3 separate regions of the Homo sapiens genome follow, and regions 1 and 3 are each linked to region 2. The links are contacts of gene promoters, found by promoter capture Hi-C in human tissues and cell types (Jung and others, 2019). All regions are on one chromosome and are shown on one strand. The core of a region is centred on a gene start or on the middle of the fragment in contact, and the rest is flanking DNA. Distances in the headings are between cores, read along the strand shown.

Region 1 (3,403 bases), core at 539-3,038, 770 kb before region 2:
TTGTGTGTGGGTGTGCGTGGGGGGTTCATATGCAGTTCCCTGGGTCTCAGCGATGGATGGCCCGTGCTCTGTTTGTAATCATCCACGGAACCTCAGGCGTGGTCTGGTTCCTGATGAGAACAAGATGCCGTTGTCCTATCGAGGAACCTAGCTCTCTGGGGAGCCCTGACCCTGGTCAGCAGCTTGCTCTGTCTGTGGTTTGATCTGGGAATTTGGTATCAGGAGTATAGGCCCATTAAAAAAGAAAAGCTCAGACCAGGCATGGTGGGTCACGCATGTAATCCCAGCACTTTAGGAGGCCGAGGTGGGAGGATCACTTGAGGTCAGGAGTTCGAGACCAGCCTGGCCATCATGGCGAAACCCTGTCTCTACCAAAAATCCAAAAAATTAGCTAGGCGTGGTAGCATGTGCCTGTAATCCCAGCTGCTCGGGAGGCTGAGGTATGAGAATCTCTTGAACCTGGGAGGTGGAGGTTGCAGTGAGCTGAGATCGTGCCACTGCACTCCAGGCTGGGGGACAGAGCAAGACTCCATCTCAAAAACAAAAAACAAAAAACAAAAACAAAACCAAAACCCAGGTTGGGTGTGGTGGCTCATGCCTGTAATCCCAGCACTTTGGGAGGCTGAGGCGGGTGGATCACCTGAGGTTAGGAGTTCGAGACCAGCCTGGCCAACATGGTGAAACCCCGTCTCTACTAAAAATACAAAAATTACCTGGGCGTGCTGGTGCATGCCTGTAATCCCAGCTACCCGGGAGGCTGAGGCAGGAGAATTGCTGGAACCTGGGAGGCTGCGGTTGCAGAGAGCCGAGATTGCACCACTGCACTCCAGCCTGGGGGACAGAATGAGACTCCGTCTCAAAAAACAAAACAAAACAACCCAAACCAAAAATAAAACGAAAAAGAAAAGTTCAGAGCCTGGGCACCATAGTGAGACTTTGCCTCTACAAAAAAAATAAAAAGTTAGCTGCACATGATGGGGCAGGCCTGTAGCCCCGGCTACTCGGGAGTCTGAGGCAGGAAGATCACTAGAGCCTGGGAGTTCGAGGTGATCTCGCACTGTGCGAGCTGTGATCGCACTACTGTACTCCAGCCTGCACGACAGAGCGAGATCCTCTCTAAAAATAAGAATAAAGAAAAGCTTGGGCCCTGGGCACCATGCTAGGTGCTTTAACATTTTTTGTGTTTTTTTAGTGTTTCTTTTAAAAAAATATTTTTATTTCAATAGTTTTAGGGCTGGTTTTTGGTTATGTAGATGAATTGTTCGTTGGTCGAGGCTGGGTTTTTATTGTACTTGTCACCAAAATAATGTCCATGGTACACAGTAGGTAATTTTTCATCCTTCACCCCCTCCCGCCCTCTGAGGGTCCAGTGTCTGTTATCCCACTTTTGCCTGCTTTTGTGTCCCCGTAGTTCAGCTCTCACTTATAAGTGAGAACATGTGGTATTTGGGTTTCTGATCCTGAGTTACTTCACTTAGGATAATGGCCTCCAGTCTCATCCAAGTTGCTGCAAAAGACATGATTTCATTCTTTTCTATGACTGAGTAGAATTCCATGATGTATATGAACCACATTTTCTGCATCTACTCATCGGTTGACGGGCACTTAGGTTGATTCCATATCTTTGCAACTGTGAATTGTGCTGCGATAAATGGGCATGTGCAGGTATTTTTTTTTTTTTTTTTTTTTTTTTTTGCGGCGGGGTTTTGCTCCTGTTGCCCAGGCTGCAGTGCAGTGGCACAATCTCGGCTCACTGCAACCTGTCCCTCTTGGGTTCAAGCGATTCTCCTGCCTCAGCCTCCCAAATAGCTGGGATTATAGGCATGTGCCACCGTGCCTGGCTAATTTTGTATTTTTAGTAGAGATGGGGTTTCACCATGTTGGCCAGGCTGGTCTCGAACTCCTGACCTCAAGTGATCTGCCCGCCTCGGCCTCCCAAAGTGCTGGGATTACAGGTGTGAGCCACCATGCCCGTCCCCTTTTTGATGTAATTATTTCTTTTCTTTTGGGTGATTACCCAGTAGTGGGACTACTGGATTGAATGGTAGATGTGCCTTTAGTTTTCTGAGAAATCTCCATACTGTTTTCCGCAAAGGCTGTACTAATTTCATTCCCATCGGTAGCGTGTAAGCATTCCCTCTGTACCACATCTACGCCAACATCTGTTGTTCTTTGACTTTTTAATAATAGCCATTCTGGCTGGGGTAAGATACTATCTCATTGTGGTTTTAATTTGCATGTCCCTGTGATGGATTAGTGATTTTGAGCATTTTGCATATATTTTTTGGCCATTTGTATATATTTTTTTCTTTTTTGAGACAGAGTCTCACTCTTGTTGCCCAGGCTGGAGTGCAATGGCGTGATCTCAGCTCACTGCAACCTCTGCCTCCCAGGTTCAAGCGATTCTCATGCCTCAGCCTCCTGAGTAGCTGGGATTACAGGTGTCCGCCACCATGCCTGGCTAATTTTTGTATTTTTGTAGAGATGGGGTTTAACCATGTTGGCTAGGCTGGTCTCGAACTCCTGACCTCAGGTGATCCACCCGCCTCGGCCTCCCAAAGTGCTGGGATTACAGGTGTGAGCCACCACACCCGGCTGTTTCAAAATATCTTAATGTTACATCACATTAAATAAGGTATTAAATAGCCCCATTTATATAGCAATCAGGCAAGAGAAATAAAGTGCATCTGGATTGGAAGAGAGGAAGTCAAACTATCTCTGTTTGCTGATGATATGATATTATACCTAGAACACCCTCAAGACTCCTCTAGAAGACTCCTAGATTTGAGAAAAGAATTCAGTGAAGTTTCAGGTTACAAAATCAGTATACACAAATCAGTAGCATGCTATCTGCCAGCAGCGACCAAGCTGAGAATCAAATCAAGAACTCATTCCCATTTACAATAGCTACAATAACAACAACCAAACACCCTAGGAATATAGTTACCCAAGGATGTGAAAGATCTCTACAAGGAGAACAATAAAACACTGATGAAATAAATCATAGATGACACAAACAAATGGAAAAACATCCCGTGCTCAGGGATTGGGAGAATCAATATTGTGAAAATGACCACACTGCCAAAAGCAATCTACAGAGTCAGTGTGATTCCTACCAAGATACCAACGTCATTTTTCACAGAATTAGAAAAAGATCCAAAAATTCACATGGAAACAATGAGCCCGAAAAGGCAAAGCAATCCTAAGCAAAAGGAATGAATTTGGAGGGATCGCATTACCTGATTCAAGTTAATCTCTAAGGCTGTAGTAACCAAAATAGCATGATCCTGGTATAAACGTGCACACAGACCCATGGAACAGAATAGGAACCCAGAAATAAAGCTACATTTTTACAAGCAGCTGATCTTTGACAAAACATACAAAAACATATCACTGGGGAAAG
Region 2 (3,029 bases), core at 483-2,982:
AAAGCAGACTCCCTCTCCCAAGGTCAAACTCAGACATTCCTACTGGGTTACCTAAGAAAGGGAGATGTTCTCATAAATGGCACTGGACGCCCAAATAGGGTGTAGGTGTGTCCCAGACACCTGCACAGCCCACCTATGTTCTCCAGACCCCGCCCACGGCTCTTTTAATGCTCCATGTCCCTGAAGACATTGGGTTTGGAGAAGCTGCATAGGGCACCCCACTCTGTGTTGGAGAACCCCTTACAACAACACACCGTGACGGTGAAACCTCAGTGCCAGTAAAGAGACCTGGCAGCCCACCCTGGAGAATCAGAGGGGTGGGAAGGGCGCTGCCAGAGCCGAACCACACAGATATCCCCTAGACCACGATGGGGGGCGGTGGGGGGCGTTTTGAGTCTCAGGATCTTCCCAAGGCCAGGCACCTGGCCAGAGATTGGCTGGCTGCCTGTGGGTCACCTGGTGAATGAATGGTGAGTGGATCTAATTTCTGCCTCAGCTACAAGAGCTACTTAAGAAGCAAGAAAACAGCATGCTCAGGGACGCAGGACACCAGGAGAGGGACACGGGAGGCCCCGCGAACACGGACACACACGGTGTGAGCGCGAGAATGCAGTGCAGGGCCACTGCTGTGTCCCAGGCGGACCCAGGTCAAGGGCCAAGGCCAGGCGGGGTCCTGGCTTTCTGGGTTTCTCGGTGGCGCCTGGTCCCACCCCCCAGGATCTAGAGGCTGTGCAGACGCAGACACACACAGTCACGGGCACATACACAGTTTCCTGAACTTGACAGAGGCACAGAAGAACTCACGCAGTGGGAGCGGGAAGAGGCCGGAGCCCCTGCCCCACACGTGAGCAAAGGGACGAGCCTTGGGGCCACTGTCACCTGCCCCCCTCCCGCCTCCCCACGGCCTTCCTTCCAGCAACCCTGGCAGGTGGGCGGCTGAGAGCGACACCAGTCCCAGGATCCCGCCTGTGGGGAGACCCGGTTACCCCCACCCCGTTCCCGGGCACGCGTGACCCCAGCCACTGGGCCAGAGCGCCGCCCGTCACCGGGAGGAAGCGCGGGGGGCAGTCCGGGGCCGCACGCGGAAGCCACGCTGGGGCGGAAGCCGCGGAGAATCCACGCGCCCGCGCCCTCCCCGCACCGCCCGCACGTGGCGCCCGCCCCGCCCCGCCCCCCGCAGGTGTGAAGGCGCGGGCCCGATGCGCGCCGCCGACCCGCGTGGATCCTCGTCCTCCCAGGTCTGGGGTCCGCGCCCTGGGGCCCCCGGCGCGGCAAGCATGGCCCGGGCGGCACGTGCAGGGGAGAGAGCCTCGCGTCCCGGGGAAGCCCCCGGGCCTGCGGGGCGGGGCCCACCTGGGCAGGTGCCCGGGCCGCGCCGCGGGCCGCATGAGGGTCTCGGGCCCCGCGCACCCAACCCCGCCACCCTCGGCCCGCGCCCCCAGGCGGCCGTGACTCAGCGGCCAGGTAGCCCCGGCCCCGCGCCCCGGTCCCCGTCCCCGCCGCGGCCCGGGCCCCGCTGCCCCACCGCCCCTCACCTGGCGTCGCGCGGAGGGCGCGGGCGCGCGGCGGCTCCTCGCGGGCACGCGCTGTCCTCGCGCCGGCGCTCACTGTCGCGCTCCCCTCGGCCGCCGCCGCCGCCTGGCGCTCGGGCTCCGACTTCGCGAAGAACAACAAGTGCCCCCGCGCCGCCCGCCGCCACCGCACCCGCCCGCCCGGCTCCCCAGCATCTGACACCGCTTCCGGGATCCGCGGCGCGCGCGTCACACCGCCCTGCCCCCCGGGCCACGCCCCCTCCCCGCCCCGCGGCCACGCCCCCCGGCCACGCCCTCCTCTCCCGCCCGGGGGGCCGCTGGCCCCGCGCGCACCTGCAATCCCCGCGCTTTGGGAGGCCCTGCGGGAAGATCTCTGGAGGCCGGGAGTTCAAGACCAGCCTGGGCAACATAGCGAAACCTCCCTTCCCCCATTCTCTGTCTCTATAAACATAAAAAACATTAAGGCCAGCTGGGAACGGTGGCTCATGCCTGTAATCCCAGCACTTTGGGAGGCCAAAGCAGGAGGATCGCTTGAGCCCAGGAGTTCCAGACCAGCCTGGACAACACAGTGAGACCCCCATCTCTACAAAAAAATTACAAAAATTAGTCGGGCGTGGTGGTATGTGCCTGCGGCCCCAGATATTCAGGAGGCTGAGGCAGGAGGATGGCTTGAACCTGGAAGGTGGAGGCTGCCATGATTTCATCACTGCACTCTAGCCTGGGTGACAAGGTGAGACCCTGTCTCAAAAAAACAAAACAAGCAAACCAGCAATGTAAAAATGGGGATAAGCGGCTAGTGATCACAGCCTCTGTGGGTGGGGCCAGCCCCCTTCTAAAGCCCCAGCTGGTGGTTGCCAGGGGACACAGCAGGCCCAGGATGGGGTTAGGGCACCACTGGCCCAAGGAGTCCTGTGAGGGATCCTCAGGTGGGGGCGGGCCCCTGAGGGAGCTGCCTCTGCTTCCTGTCACAGGTGGAGGACAGGCTGGAGAGGGGATCCGTCTGGAGCCCCTTGCCACGCTTCTGGGTCCCCAAGTCCCGCCCCCCTCTGAGCGCTGCAGGAAGAGGAGTTTCAGGCCTGGGCAACCGAGGGCCCCCCAGGACACCCATGGCATCTGCCCGGGGTTCTGGGAAGCCTGTTTTCTCAGCTCAGGTGGGACCCGGGAGCCTGTTTTCTCGGCTCAGGTGGGACTCAGGAGCCAGTGCAGGGAGGTCTGTGCATCTTCTGGGTGTCGTCCTTACCACCATGTGGCTGGGGATTTAGGCAGCAGCCCAGTGGCCTCTTGCTGTGGAGCGCGGGGGCAGCCTCCCGGGCCATCTCTCCCCCCCACTTGCGGGTTCTGCACTGGCCACCTGGGAGGCCCCTCCTTGCTAAGGCCCACACGGCCGTCTGGGGCAGCTAGCCACAGTGATGCCTGCAACCTGGCCGCAGAAACAGGTGCCAAGAAATAACTCAACAGCAGCAGTAGCGACAATGTCCCACGTCCCCAGGATGTTTG
Region 3 (3,227 bases), core at 728-3,227, 990 kb before region 2:
CCAGCCCTCTGACCACATCCCCTCTGTTGGAGAAAGGCCCCAAATTCCAAGATGAGAGGTGCTCAGAGCTGGTGGTAGCCCAGAGTGGGGCTGAAGGATGCCCAAGATCACATAGCAGTAAGGCTTGAGTGCTGGGGGTGGGGGGGCCAGGCTCAGGGATGGTGCCCCAAAAGGACTGTCAGTAAGAGATGCTGGGGGGGCCCGCTGGTCCCCTCATCGCCAGGCAACCTGAGTGGCCAGCACGCCAGCAGCGGTTCCCACGGAGCGCGTAGCTGCACACAAGGGGCCCGACGCCTTTCTCGCTGGAGAAAGGGGCTTTGTTACCTTGCCCAAGGGGCCGGCGTGAGAGCCGCCCGGCGCTGGGAATCCTAACGGCCCGGCCGCCAAACAAAACCCACGGCCCCCGCCGCCCCCTCCCGCCAGCCCGCTGAGCCCCTGGGAATGGGACGCTGTGTTCCCAGGAGGCTGCCATGGGGTTCCCAGGGCCCCTTCCCCACGCCAGGACCAGGGAGGACCCTGCCCCTCCCCGTCGCCCTCATGACCTCACCAAGCCCTGCTCCCACCCACCCACAGTGCCCCAAAACAGGACAGCGCCAGGTCAGAAGGCCCTGGGTCTCCGGGGTTTGAGCAGGGAGGAAGGCGTGCAGGGTCTTCCCTGAGCCCCCACCCTCACAGCAAATGCCTCTGCATCTCCCAGCCCAGAGACACCCCCCCAGTCCCCGACTGCAAGCCCCACACACTGTCCCCATCCCGCCCCAGCCCAACCGTCCTGCTGTGGCCTCGAGGGAAATGTTCAAAGTGGGGTGTGTCTTAATTATGTGTGTGTAAGAAGCTGATGCCCAACTGAAGTGGGCTGTGCCCAAGGTTGCAGGCCTCAGAGACTACTGCACTGTGCGGGGAGGGTCCCCACACAGACCCCAAAACCTGGAGTTCTTTGAGATGTACTCCCCAGGACCCACCAACCAGCAATGACTTCCCTCCCTCCCCGTACCTTAACACTGTGATGAGGAAAGGGCCCAGAGGTCAGAACCCCTCACTTCTCTAAAGGAAGAGCCTTTCTCCCCAGGAAGGGGTCTGAGCTGAGGGTGGGTCCGAACAGAATTTGCTTGTGGAAGTTTGAGGACATAATGCCCTATGAATGCGCTCCAATGTTTACGGGGTGAGAAGTATCACAGGGCACCAACCCCAAGCACTGGAGACTGGTGTAGGGTCCTGCAGCCATCCAGGACTCTGGAGCTGGACAGGAGGCGGGGCCCCGGGGACAGTAACACAACTGTAACGGGAGAGTGGCCCCAGCAGGCAAACTGGGTGCACCGGGGTGCACTGGCGTCGCCCACAGATGGCCCTAGTGGCTGGATGGGGATGCAGCCTGACTCCCATGGGACACTGCCACCAGCTGGACCAGATGGTGGGTCCCCGCCCCGCTCGCCCGCCAGTCCAGGCCGCGGGGGGCTCACCATCTCCTTGTGGCGCGAGATCCAGGTCTCCAGCAGCAGGTCGAGGCGCGCGCGGTGGAACTTTTTGGTGGTCTTGACAGCGATGAAGACGTCTCGGGGCGCGAGCGGCTCGGCCAGGGGGCGCGGGTGGCCGTCGGCGGGGCGGGGGGCAGCCCCGGGCGGCGGGCCCGCATCTCTGCGCGCGCGGGTGAGCAGGCTGAAGTACTCGGACAGACTGTGCACGTCGCGGACCAGCGCCCCGGGCGCCGCCGCCGCCGCCCCCAGCCCGGGCGCCGGGGCAGCCCCCGCGGGGCCCGCCAGGCTGCGCAGCGCGCGCCGGCCGCGCTCGGCGGGCAGTGGAGGCGGCGGCGGGTCGGCGGTGAGCACCAGCAGGCAGGCGAGCAGCGCGCCCGCCAGCGCCAGCAGCAGGCGCCGGCCGCAGCGCTTGAGCATGGTGGGGTGGCGGCCGCGCGGCGCGCCCTTCCCCGTGCGCCTGCCTTGCACCGACCCGAAGCCCGTCGCTCCGGCGGCGCAGTCCAGCAGCGCAGCACCAGTGTCCCGCGCTCTTAAACCTCCCCGCCCCGGTCCCGCCCCCGTGCGCTCATTGGCTCCCGGGCTCGGGGGCGGGGCCTCGCGCCGGTCGCCGCTCCACGCCCGCAGACCCACGTGGGGCCGCGGCTGGGGGCTGGGAACTGCCCAGAGGGCGCAGCGGCCCCGCCCCCGGCGCGCACGTGCACGCCCCGCACCCCCCCCGCCCCGGGTAGCCCCTGCGGGCCGCCGAGGGGCTTGGGGACGGGCCCGGCCCGCGCCGGTGTCCCTGAAGAGGAAACCCAGCCTGGCCAGCGCCGTCCGGGGATGCACCGGGCGTCCCGGCACGGGAGGGGCGCGCCCTCGGCGCAGCGGGCAGGGTGCTGAGACCCGGGCTCTGGGCTCCGACGCACCGCGGGGGACATCCTACTTCCTCGCTGTGCGCTTCCCCTCCTGAGCACGGCTTCCTCCCCTTGGGACGCGGCAGGCCTTGCAAACTGGGGTGGCGCCTGGGTCTTCCCGAGCGCTCGGTTCAGGGGAGCCGTTATTTGTACAGAGCAAGAGCTTGGCCACCTGTGCCGCAGGTGGGGACACGAGGTTCTAACGAGAAAGCACCAGAACCAAATTCCACTCCTTCCTCCCTGGCTGATTTCCTCGATCCTGGCCCTCCGTCGGGAGGGTTGGCTCCCCGAAATCCTCAGGCGCCCCATGGCGAGGAGAAACGAAGGCCGCCACTTCCCTCGCCGGATGAAAGGCCGCCTTCTGTCCCATTTGGTCTCCTTGCGCTCGGGCCAGATGCGGCCCAGCTGTGCGCCCTCCCCACCCCGCCTCCCCGGCACACGGCCCCCATCCCCGGCCCTTCCCACGGGCCCGGGCCCGCCCCTCGCACGAGCGGGGGCGGCAGGAATGCGCGCCGGCAGCCGAGGGTGAGGGGCGAGGGGCCCGGAAGTGGCCAAGGGTCGCCTGAGCAGGGTGTGAGCCCCCTGCCCGCCACGTCCTCCGGAAGCGTGGACGGAGGCGGCTCTGCCCGTGGCTGCGCTGTCTTCCCGTGCCCTCCTAAGCAGGGTCTCTGCGACCACCACGACCACCACCGCCACCACCGTGGCTAAACTGCCCCCCTCGGAGTTATGTTCACGCCTGAGATGGCATTTTAAATTCTTTAAGTGCCCTTGGAGCCCCTCTCCTTACCTCTACCTGAATGTCAGCCGCAAGACAGCAGCGACCTGGTGTCATTCAGACCTGGAACAGGTTTTGGGACATAGT

Evidence for each region. Contacts are between HindIII fragments. The study calls those that stand out against the background at their distance.
Region 1: a fragment that was not itself captured here is called in contact with the fragment with the promoter of MAFK in region 2 in 2 of the 25 tissues and cell types used here (dorsolateral prefrontal cortex and lymphoblastoid cells).
Region 3: a contact is called between the fragment with the promoter of LFNG here and the fragment with the promoter of MAFK in region 2, in 1 of the 25 tissues and cell types used here (lymphoblastoid cells).

What each region holds. Positions count from the first base shown.
Region 1 is chr7:2,295,843-2,299,245 of GRCh38, reverse strand. The region is part of intron 1 of SNX8 (sorting nexin 8); the gene reads left to right. Among named protein-coding and RNA genes, the nearest start is that of SNX8, 17 kb to the left of the region's middle. The HindIII fragment of the contact is 3,599 bases long and covers 1-3,403 here.
Region 2 is chr7:1,529,405-1,532,433 of GRCh38, reverse strand. MAFK (MAF bZIP transcription factor K) reads right to left here and starts at 1,732. Exons shown (of 3, transcript NM_002360.4): 1 at 1,536-1,732. RefSeq lists silencers at 1,013-1,142, 1,633-1,902. The HindIII fragment of the contact is 23,868 bases long and covers 1-3,029 here.
Region 3 is chr7:2,518,524-2,521,750 of GRCh38, reverse strand. It overlaps LFNG (LFNG O-fucosylpeptide 3-beta-N-acetylglucosaminyltransferase), which reads right to left and starts at 1,977. Exons shown (of 8, transcript NM_001040167.2): 1 at 1,458-1,977. The coding sequence starts at 1,889. RefSeq lists silencers at 1,802-1,911, 1,922-2,451. The HindIII fragment of the contact is 23,923 bases long and covers 1-3,227 here.